2 separate regions of the Homo sapiens genome follow, and region 2 is linked to region 1. Evidence: promoter capture Hi-C in human tissues and cell types (Jung and others, 2019). All regions are on one chromosome and are shown on one strand. Each heading gives the region's core, a stretch centred on a gene start or on the middle of the fragment in contact. The rest is flanking DNA. Distances are from core to core; before and after follow the strand shown. Region 1 holds the start of SP9 (Sp9 transcription factor). Region 2 overlaps OLA1 (Obg like ATPase 1).

Region 1 (5,387 bases), core at 463-2,962:
GCACTTCCAGCCACGAGCCCGGGCTGCTGTGCACGTCCCACCACGACGACGCCGCGCCGTTGGTCACCTCGCCGGCCGCCAGCGTCGAATGGAAGCCCGACTTGTACCAGGACTCGTACGGGTGCGCCATGCCCACGCGCGGGTACAGCCCGTCGGCTGCCGTCGTGTGCACCTTGGAAATGAAGGCCGACTGGCCACCCGCCTCCTGCGGGGACACCCCGGCCGCTGCCGCCGCGGCAGCCGCCGAGTTGGAGAAGAGGCCGCCGTAGTCGCTGCTGAAGGCGGACGACGTGGGCGACGTGGAGGCCAGGCAGAAGGCGCTGTTGGCGGCGCCCGAGCCGCCCGCCAGGCCGCCCGAGCCACGGCCCCCGGTGGCCACCGCGAAGCCCGAGAGGCTGGAGCCGAGGTTGCAGCTGGACGAGGAGCGCTTCCAGGGGTGAAAGCCGCCTTTGGCGAAGGCGCTCGACTCTGGCAGCGTCGTCAGCGGGCTCGTGTTGCCGATCTTGTTGCAGGTCGCCGCCAGCATGGCCAACGGGGTCGTTCCGAAGCGCGGCTCTTCCTAGAGTGGGTGGGATGGGGGAGGGAGCAAGAAGGAGGAGGGCAAGAGGAAGTGGGGGAAGAAACAAAGTGCACCCGTGAGCAGCCTCGTCCCCTGCGGCTGCTCCCGGGGGGTCCTGGCTCCCCGCCTCGCGCCTCCTCCCCACGCGCCCGCGGAGGAGTCGCCGCACCGGGCGCGGAGCAGGGGCGATCACCCGGGCGAAGGTCCAGGCGCCGGAAAGTTGCACTTCGCTGAGGCTATAAATCAAAGATGCCTCCGTGTTCCCCGCTGCAACCCTGCCTACAACCGGACTTGGGTTGTCGCCGTAAACCGGCTCATCTCCCAGAAGACCCCAAGTCGCCCTTCGGGGTGAAGCGCGAAGGTAAACACAGAGACCAGAGACAACAAACACCGGGTGAGGGCGGAGGCGGCCGAAACAGCTGCCAGGGACGGGCGAAACTTGCAGCTCTCCCAGGGTGGCTACGACTTGACTTTTCTTTTTTAATAGAAAACGTTTGGTTTTAAAGTTTACATACACACAAAAACAGCGATTATGAAAACAATAATCCGAGGATAAGCGGCCAGAGACAGATTTCAAAGTCATGGGCGAATTGGGGAGCCGCGGAAATGTAAATGTTTATTAGCGTGACTAGATGGACTGCAAAACGATTAAGACTGTTTTCTGGAAACACCATTGTCGCATAATTGCAACAAAATCCCCAAAGCAATGCGGGGGATGGGGTATAAATCACGAGGGGAAGAAAAGAAACCTCTAGCTTTTTTTTGAAACCAAATGAAAAAGGACTTGATTAAGAAGGCCTTTTCTTGCAAAGGCATCTTTCTGGGTTCCAAAAACTTGGGGAAAAATCAGTCCCAGAAATGTGGAAAGTGCTAATAGAAGCTGAAGCTGCAGTCTAGCAGCAACAGTTTCTCCGGAGCCGCAGACCCCAGAAGCCATAACGAAAAATTACTCCGGTTAAAACAAGCAAATGCGTTGCCGCGCTTGCGACTTACCCCGAGTATAGACGTGGCCATAGCAGGTCTCTGGCTGCGCAGCGAGGCTGGGAGCGGGGCTGAGCCTGGCGGCTGCTCGGAAAAACTGCTTGGGTCCCGCGCGGCTCCCGCGTCCCCGCGCTCGTGCCGAGCGGACTCCAGGCTCCCGCCGGCTAAACTCAGCCTAAGTGCGAGGAGCACCCGCTTTGAAGTGCCGCTGGCTGCGCCTCTCGCCCAATGAGGGCGCAGGCAGAGCAGACCGGAGCTGCCCCGCAGCCAATCAGACGCTCCGAGGGGCCCGAGCCCGGGCTCCCGGCGCGTGCCAGTCAAGTCAGCTAGCTAGGGCCGCGGGGGTGGGGGGGAGTAGTGGGGGATACTTGCGGGGGGGGGGCGAGGGCGGGCTGGGGACTGAAGAAATTACAGTGCAATTAAAAATTTACACTCACGCACCAAGCCAGGTTTAAGTACCAATGAAACCGAGCCACAAGCACCCCCCCACACACAAACCACCCCGAGATGTTGCAAGTTAGGGCTGACAGTCCTACTCGACTCCCCACTTGTAGGAAAGGAGGCAGGAGGGGAGGAGACACCCAGACACAGCCCGCACCAGCAGGGCCCAAGTGGAGACGGAAATGTGAGCCCTCACTTTGTGTGTCCAGGCTTTTGCCTACAGAACACAACTTCAGCTTGTATCTATCATTCTTGCTTGTGATTTTTATCATTTTCGTGTGTCTTCTACCCAATTCCTTATTCCACTAGATTCAATTTCACTCTCACAGTTATACTGGGGAGGGGGCGCGAAGGGACAGCTCCTCCGAGAGGAGCGAAATAGGCCTCTCTGTACAGATCTACATCCACAGATTTGTTGGGAGGGCCTGGAGCCTGCTGCATCCCGCCATTTCCCCCCAGCGGTGTAAGTGACTTCCTAATTGTCGCTCTGGCCTCTGACCCGGGGGGTAATACAAGTGCCACTCACGCTAGAGGCTTCTGGTGGTAATTGAGGGCACCCTTTGTACGGTTTCGCCAGCGCTTAGATACCAGGTTAACCCAGTTGTCAAATATGACTAAACAGTGGGATGTGCTGATTATCTGCCGGGTTTTGCTGTGGGCTGGCATGGGGGTGGGAGGCATCAGCCCATACAACACGCTGCACGAAGCCGCTTATTTTCTCACTGTAACAACTTTGGAAACAGAGACCGGCGCGAGCGGCGTCCGCCCCCACCTCCACCTCCGCTGAAGCTGCAGCTTGCTCGGCTGTTTGTTTAACCCGGTGAAGATTTGCATGTCGCGTTTCATCCTGGAGTGGAGTTTTCTTGTCCCAGCTCCAACCCACTCCCATTCCAGACCACCAGGGCCTAGAGGCTCGTCCGTAGGGCAAGTGCGCTGTTTTAAGAGGTAGGCTCCCCATTAGTGCCCTGCTTTCACGGACGCGCCCGAGAAATCTCTCCAGGACTTTCACCCGGGAGGGCGGAGGACCAGGCCACACGTGGGCGCTTCCACATTTTGCAGGCTGGAAGCATCCTGAAGTCCTCCCTGGACCTTGTCAGTGTGAAAAGAGGCGTCCTCAAGCAGACCAGGGTGCGTCTTCGAGTCCCCCAGCAACCGCTGACCTGCTTGTTTTTCTCTTTCTGGGCCCCGCTTTCTCTTTCTTCTCCAGGGTAGCCAGAAGCTGTTTTTGAACCAGAAATACCAGCGCCCTCGGGCAGACCTGGGCACTGGTTTTAATATAGCACACTCCCCACTAAACCCACACCCTGCTTCTTAGGAAAAAAAAAAAATTAAACTACCAACCCCAAACCCTCGGGTGCAAACGACGAGTTGTCGCGGAGCCGGTGCAAGTGACAAGGATGTGGAACTGTGCCTCCCGTGTTTTCTCTCCTCTTTTGCAAGATCTCTTGACCCAAAAGTACGACCAGAGTGGCGCTGCTCTCGGCCCTGTGATGGAGCCTGGGTGCGTCTTGGCGCACTCCGTGGGTGGGGAGGGCTATGTGGGTCGCTTTCTTGGATTCATCTTAAAATACTTTGGCTCAGAATGGGTTTTTTTTATTTTATTTTTTTCTCTTTTTTGTTTAAGGTGGCGAAAGCACCAAGGAAATTATGACAGAGAAAGAGAAGGAACAGAGGAGAAGAGAAAGAGAAGGAACAGAGGAGAAGAGAACGAGAAGGCTCGTGTGGCTGTCAATGAAGTGCTGTGCCCTGGGAGACTGTAGTGGAAATGGGGGTGGGGAGGTGTGAAAAGTCCCTGAGGGACGCTGGGTGGAGGGCTGAGGAGAAATCAGGCCGCCTAGAAGAGCCGGAAAGCCCAGCAGGGGGACCCGGGGGCCGTTCCCAACAGGTGACTTCTGCCCTGGAAGAAGACACTGGTTCTCGGCTTCCCATAGAGTCTCCGCGTAGATTTACTAATAGAGGGATTGTTAAGTGGCAGCGAGGCGTTTCCTACTCACCCTGTGCAGCCGAGGAGGAGAAACGCAGAGGTTTCCCCAGTCCACCTCCTCCCCCACCCCCAACACACCCTCTCCTTAAGGAAACCTGACAAAGTAATAAATAAGACAATCCGAAAAGCCACTTAGCACTAGTGACATTTTCAAGCCAACCATTTAAAACAGTTCTCGCAGACACCTCGGGCTCCGGCGCCCTGCTCGCCTTCCTCTTCTCCTCCTCCCCTCGGATCCCCTCCCCTCCCCCTCCCGCCGTTTTCCCCGTAGTTCCAGCTGTCAGACTCTAGACGTGGGCACTCGCATATTCCTTTAGATACACGCGTCTGCATCACAATAAAAGTTAGGGAAATCTTCCAAACGAACGCAGGCAAACACCCGGGCCACTTCAACTCTAAGGTGGGGCCCCAAGGAAATCTTTCGGAGGAAGTCCAGATTTTTTTCGTCTGACAGATTTTTTTCATCCTCTAAAAAAATCTAGTTTTTAAACAAAGATCAATGTGTTATGCTAAAGTGTTGAGCTGACTGTTAAAACATTTGGGGAAATAATGACAATGTAACAAAGGCCTGGTTTGGAGTGAATCATCACCCTTTTAAAAGTTAAAGCAATTTTCAGGAGAATAGCTTTCAGCAAACGCTTTACATTATTCAAAACGGCCAAATAATGCTCTATTATAGCGCCTGAATGCTGCCAGTCAGCCCCTAAGTGCAATTTGTGCAAAGGCCCCGGTGCCTTATCTCCACTTCTTTATAAAGAGGTGAATATAAAACAATTTCTTCCAAACCCAGACAGAGAGCACGAAAATTGCTTCCCTTTCTGCAATCAGGGCAATTTAACTGGAGTGCAATTAGCACTATTAAATGTCGATTCTGCATAAACAAATCTGACTGAGCAGCGAAAGTGGGGTGAGAACCTCATATACACTGAAACTGATTTTTTAAAATTATGTATCCGGGTCCTTTACAATTGATCCGTGACGTTTTCATCTTGGAATATATTTACATCATAAATACACTATGGTTAAACCAACATAATTTTTTTGCAAAAAAATTCAATACGATTCCTAATAAAGAAGAATAGGGTAATTAAAGGGAAGAGTTCACTTCCTTTGAACAAATATTGTTTCTCCCATCTTGCCTCTCCCGGGAGCTTTGATCTGAGCAACTGCTCAAGTTGCTCTGTTTAGCAGGCAAAGCCAGGGAAACAATTCGGTCATTAGCGCTAATCGGAAGGATTGGACCTCCTTCACAGGTCCAATAGCCACAGATAAAATGCTTCTTCCTGATGTGCAGGAAGCGTAGTGGCGACTGGGAGGACCAGTTATTTTCTGAATAACTGGATATGTAGTAGCTGGTTAAATATTAGGTGGCTGCCCAGTCTCCCCGGAGCTTTGACCTAGCACAGAGTCTAGCAGCGGGTA
Region 2 (5,881 bases), core at 2,258-4,757, 250 kb after region 1:
GGGTCTACTGTCTTTACTGTTCCTTCTCCTCCCACCCACCATATAATTTGATATTCTTTGACAATATCATTATTATTTTGATCACTAGCAACTGGATGACTTTCTTTAGACATTTGCTAACATTTGTACATAGAGATTATTATTCAGGCACTTCGGCAGAATGGCTTGGAATTGTTTTTCTAGTAGTGGTACTGAGCTCAACTTTAATTTTCTATATCCCTCGTGCCAATAGCACACATTTTTGAGATGACTAGCTATAGTTTGGGGTATGGTTTGTAGAAAGAGAATAGACATTTTTCTGCAAAAGGTAACTGGTCCCCATGGGGTTCAGATTTGTGATCTTGGCCTCATTATCACACTTTTGTAACCATCAGACCTAATAGATACACCACATATATTTCAGTCTATAATCTTGAAATCAAATAATATTTTTAATTACCCTAGGTTTATTTCATAGATGTAATTAAAAATCATTTTGGGACATTTCCCACTTTTGTTTGATAGTAAAAGTCACAAAAGTAAAGCAGACAGCCAAAGAACCTCACTCACTTTTCATCTTCCCTGTGTTTTCTATGACAGTGAAAGTCACAAAAGTGAAGCTGGCAGGCAAAGAGCCTAACTCACTTTACGGGAGAGTGCTACGGTACCTTTTTCTTTTAGTGAGGCTATAGCAGGTCTGATGTCAGTCACTTTAGAGACCTTTAGACCTCAGTGCTCATTTACTGCTAAAATGTACCAGCTCTGCTTCTGCATTATGAAGATCATCTGTCAACACTTTGAGATATTCTCCTTTGTTATTAAGCTTGTGATGCTCTACACTGTCAGGTTTTTTGCCAATTATAGTTAAGGTACAATAGTGTATTCACCAGATCAAAGTCTCACATTGGCGGTAGAGGAATGATTTGTAAGTCTTTATTCATTTGAATTGTACAATAGAACACCTGAGGAATGCAAATAATCCCTCTGAGAACTCTGCAGGAAAGGCTGTTAAAATGACAGGGTAGGACTATTGTTATTCTGAATTGATGTGTTAGCTAAAGTAATTATTTCTTATCTTGTTGTTTCATAACAGTTCTAGTTTTATTAGTTCTGTTGACCATATTTATGAAATAAAGTGTGTATGATATTTTTATATTCTCCTTTTACATGGGCTTGTTTTATTTCACTTTCATTGAATCTATTTGGTATGTGATCTGCTTTTTTAAAATTACATATTTGATTTTAACTTGTATAATGAAAGTAAGTTACTAAACCATTGATGATAACATTTGAATATAGACTTTTGTTTGAATAGTGTAAGTCTGTGAAGTAACTTAGAATACCATAATGTTAACGGAGACAGAAGCACCAATTTCAGTCCCCCCACCTTTTTTTTAACCTGTCCTTCTTAATTTTGGTTAAGAAAACATCTAGTTTGAATTTTATGTTAAAGGCAACATAAATCATAGGACTTGGTCCATTTTTTGGGATATGAACAAAAGAAAAAATACTATTATGAAGATTGAAAACCACAAATAACATACTAAATAAGTAGTTACCTTTGTATAACAAACATATACAAACTCTTGTGTGATTGTTTTTCATTCCTTTCTCCCATCCTAAATCCTGCTCAATGGGCCATAGTCTTAATTTTCTAATAACTCTGCTCCCCTGCCATTGATGGATTTGTGACTTAGTTCTTGTTTTTCTTTTCCCCTAAAGTGGCATTTACATTAATTATTTAAAGGACTTCTGCCACAGCATTTTGCCATAATAACTATTAAAACCTTTGTCTAAATATAGCAGTCTAGTGGAATTATGTAAGCCTATAGCATAATTTTATAAAAATTTTAATGGAATGTATAGTCTCACACTAAACTCAGTTCCAGATTCATAGGAATGTATGCTATGATTATCTGAGAAGGAAAATTAATAATAGTAACTGCTGTTAATTCTTTACTATTTGCAGGCTTTTCTAGGTTCCTTACAATATAATATGTACTATTATTATCTCTATTTTTACAAGTGAGGAAACTGAGGCTTAGAAACGTTCAGTAACCTGCCCAGTAATAAAAAGCTAGGAAAGTGTTAGGCTCTGAACCTAATTAATATATTCACTACACTTATTTCATTTATGTTCTAATTACTACTTTGCCAAATACTCCATGCTTTGGAAGGAAAAAAAATGACTCAATAATGTCTTTTCAGGTAACAACTAGGATCAGTTTCCTAACTGATTTGGCTTTCCAAATCCTTTGTGATTAAAGGAATTTCTTTCCTCTGCAGTTCTATTATTCTTGTTCTCACAAAAGTCAGGTTCATACAGCTGCGTACGTGATCAACCATATTTGTAAATCTGTATTTCTGCACGTGCTTGTTCTGGCTAGGAAAAAGCTTCCTCAAAACTAGTGACCACTGTGAGTTCTGTTAGTCCATGAAGGAACTAAACCAGGCATATAGATATCTGGCTGGAACAAATTATTTATTTGTGAAGGGCTCTTCAGAATTAGCTGGTATTTTTAGGTATGATTCCTGTACAAACAGAACTTTATGTCTTCTTTTAAAAATTTACTTTGTAAAGTAAGGAAAACAAAAAATTATAAAATGGAAGCTTTATTCAAGGGTACAGGTGTTAATGCTGAACAATTTTAGTGTAACTAAAAAAAGTTTTTAAATATTTGTATAATAGTTTCCATAGATAATGTGCTAAAGTAAAACTAGGTTACAGTAAAATACTATGGCGTATACCTGAAGCAGTTGCTGCCTGTTAATGCCTTGACCTTGGAAAGCTATATACAAAAAGATGGCATCATAAAACCGTGCAATTCTTATGAATATGTATGTGCTACTTGATAATAATGAATGTGGTACAGTCATGCATGCACTACAAGATAATGTTGTGCCCTTTTTTGTCTACAGGTTGATAAAAATTAAAGAGTGGGTGGACAAGTATGACCCAGGTGCTTTGGTCATTCCTTTTAGTGGGGCCTTGGAACTCAAGTTGCAAGAATTGAGTGCTGAGGAGAGACAGAAGTATCTGGAAGCGAACATGACACAAAGGTTAATTAGCATTCATTTTCCCTACACTTTATTATCAACTATTTCCTTGCAGTAATTTAATTGCTTGCGCTGATAGAATAATAAATGACAGAGTAATTACCATTATAAAGAGGGAATCTTCTCCTTTCTTTACCATGAGACAGAGTGAAAAGATTTATTTTAAATTAAGTTTTTAACTGTCATCTGTCATCTCCGTACAGTGTTTTAATTATAACATAGGTATTAGTTATGTATATTTTTGAGAAGGAATGATCGCCAAAACTCTTTCGTCATGTTCAGTGGGGGAGGGGAAAGGGTGAATCAGTTGCCATAATTTTTTCTGAGTAACAGTAATATATTGTTTAAATATCAGATTTCAATCAAATAATTTTGCTTTTATGGCCAGGTCCTGGAAATAATTAATTTTGGATGAAAATAGTCATAATTTTTCTTTTTTTAAATAGCAAACAATTCAAAATAATATCTTCAGGCTAATACAATTAAAACCAATTTTAGAAGAGAGGTTTTTAAAAACAGTTACTTGCTTTCTGAACCCTTCCAGTGTATTCTGAAAGATGAATGGTCATTTACTACTATCTTTAACATTTTCTGCTTGAAATGAATAATTTTAGCTCTATACCAATTTCTGGCACAATCAACTTATGTGTTGGGTGAATTTGTTTCATTTGATTTCAGTGCTTTGCCAAAGATCATTAAGGCTGGGTTTGCAGCACTCCAACTAGAATACTTTTTCACTGCAGGCCCAGATGAAGTGCGTGCATGGACCATCAGGGTAAGATTCATACTTATTCATCAGCTATATCCAGTTCCACACTATTGAATTCAGATTGATATCACTGACTTTGAAGTTTGTCATGGTGGCGGTTAGCTAGTCATTACAGATGAGGTTTTTGTCCAGGATAACTTTAATTATTTGTGAGCTGCTGAACAGTGAAAGTGGAGCGGCATTGATTGAGGCAGGTAACAATTGATTCTGCCTATTACATAGTCTGAATTTCTTCATCCTGTAGAATCTGTCTACCCTCCTCCTGTGGTCAGAGATAAGACGCACCAGTATTGTGCTTGCTTAATCTGTGTGACTGGGTTTGTCTGCAGTGAAATTGATGTTGCTTTTCATTTTGTATTCGCTAAGTTTGTTTGGGTTGCGGGTGGTTCTTTCCTCCTTTGCTTTGCTCGGATTACATTTTCAGCAATAAAAGCAATATGACATCATTATGCTCTTCATAGATACACAGTTGGGCTCAAAAAGCTAAACTCAACGTGTAATAATTCATGCCTTTTTAAATTTGAATTCATAGAAGTAATGTTTATTTTCAGTGTTATATGTTCAGTCTTACTTCTTTAAAAATGTGATATGTATTTTAAAAATTGATGTATACTGAATACAACAGAGAGAATGACTAATTTATTCCCAGAGGACAATAGAAACTGAACTGTAATGGTTTGCTTTTAAATTTAAATATATTGTAACATAGTAGTTACTATTGAAAAATATTTTGAAATATATGTGATCCTAAATAGTATGTTACAGAATATAAAAATAATACCAGAACTTTTAGAAATAGTGTCTTATTCAGTCTTTTATTATGCTTTTTAAATATATGCTACACGATAAATTTTAGTGGTGCTTTGATTCCTGTTTTCAGTGACTACTGTAATTTATTGTTACATGTATTTTGATTTAATATGGATAGAAACATGGAGGCAGTTAACATAATGTTAAATGCCTTGTGTGAATGTGAGATTTACTTTTCTTTTATCTCCTCTCCCCTTTGTAAAAAAATGTTTGATTGACTTCTAACCAAGGTCCTTTTATATAGATTTTAAAAATAATGTCAAAGCAAATCCAAGTTGGTAAACAAATTGCCAGGATTTATTTTTACTATATATTTTAAAGATGTATTTTAAAGCCTTAAAACTTTCTAACTTAAGTATGTGGAGGTAGGAAAGATAGCATGTTCTGGGCTTGAAAATGTGAAAGCTGGTTTATCTTAAGACTGATTGTAAGTATCCATGATTTAATGTGCTAAGATATTTAGTCAGGTAAGCATCAGTGAGTAGCTATATTAACCCAATACATCTTTTATTGTAAAAACTGTGCTTTCTAGTGTCAGACTCCTTATCACTTTAACATGCTTTATTAAGCAGCCTTTAGGTCACCGTTATTTCTCAAATTTCTTTCCATGGTTATGTGTGTGTGGAATATATATCCTTGTAATATAACATATGGGTTAATTATAAGACATTTCTCTCCCTATATCAACTTGAATTTCCTTCATGATGGTTAGAGGCAGGGAATATTATGCAAAATGTTCAAAAATTTTATTATCGAAATTTTTTGAGAGTTTCACAATTATTTGCTGAATGTAGATTTCCAATATGATTTGTTGGAAATGCCTTTAAAATGTCCCTTTGTATATTGATTTTTATATGTTCTTTAGATGAGCTGAAATTTTGAGAGCTTTTTATCTTTTTAAAACCTTTGATAATTCAGCTTGAAAGTTACTTAAAAATCTATTTTTTTCCACTGTGAAGAATAGAAAATCGAAATGAAACCTACACCAAAACCAGACCACTGCTTCTAAATCAATAAAACAGTGGATGACTGTTAGGAAAAACAAAGCCACGCTTCTTTAATATCTACTGATCTATGCTAAATCTGCTGCACAGATACTACCCAGTGTTGAAAATGTACTAATTATATACCTGACATCTTAACAGATATTAAACTAAGTTCTAGTTGAGCCCAACTGCAGATCAGAGAAAAGAAACTCTGTGCTTACAATCAGTCATCTTAAATGCAATTAGTTTTCTCTGGTCTTTCTTTTCAAAGAAAGGGACT

What was found. The method cuts DNA at HindIII sites, captures the fragments that hold promoters and counts their contacts. A contact is called where the count stands out against the background at its distance.
Region 2: a contact is called between a fragment that was not itself captured here and the fragment with the promoter of SP9 in region 1, in 1 of the 25 tissues and cell types used here (thymus).

Annotation. Positions count from the first base shown.
Region 1 is chr2:174,331,279-174,336,665 of GRCh38, reverse strand. It overlaps SP9 (Sp9 transcription factor), which reads right to left and starts at 1,712. Exons shown (of 2, transcript NM_001145250.2): 1 at 1,553-1,712; 2 at 1-559. The coding sequence starts at 1,573. LOC102724194 (a long non-coding RNA gene) reads left to right here and starts at 1,690. Exons shown (of 3, transcript XR_427194.5): 1 at 1,690-2,926; 2 at 3,041-3,109; 3 at 3,606-3,672. RefSeq lists an enhancer at 4,280-5,351. The HindIII fragment of the contact is 14,947 bases long and covers 1-5,387 here.
Region 2 is chr2:174,079,082-174,084,962 of GRCh38, reverse strand. It overlaps OLA1 (Obg like ATPase 1), which reads left to right. Exons shown (of 11, transcript NM_013341.5): 8 at 2,899-3,039; 9 at 3,715-3,811; 10 at 5,873-5,881. Among named protein-coding and RNA genes, the nearest start is that of LINC01960, 57 kb to the right of the region's middle. RefSeq lists an enhancer at 586-1,188. The HindIII fragment of the contact is 3,838 bases long and covers 1,589-5,426 here.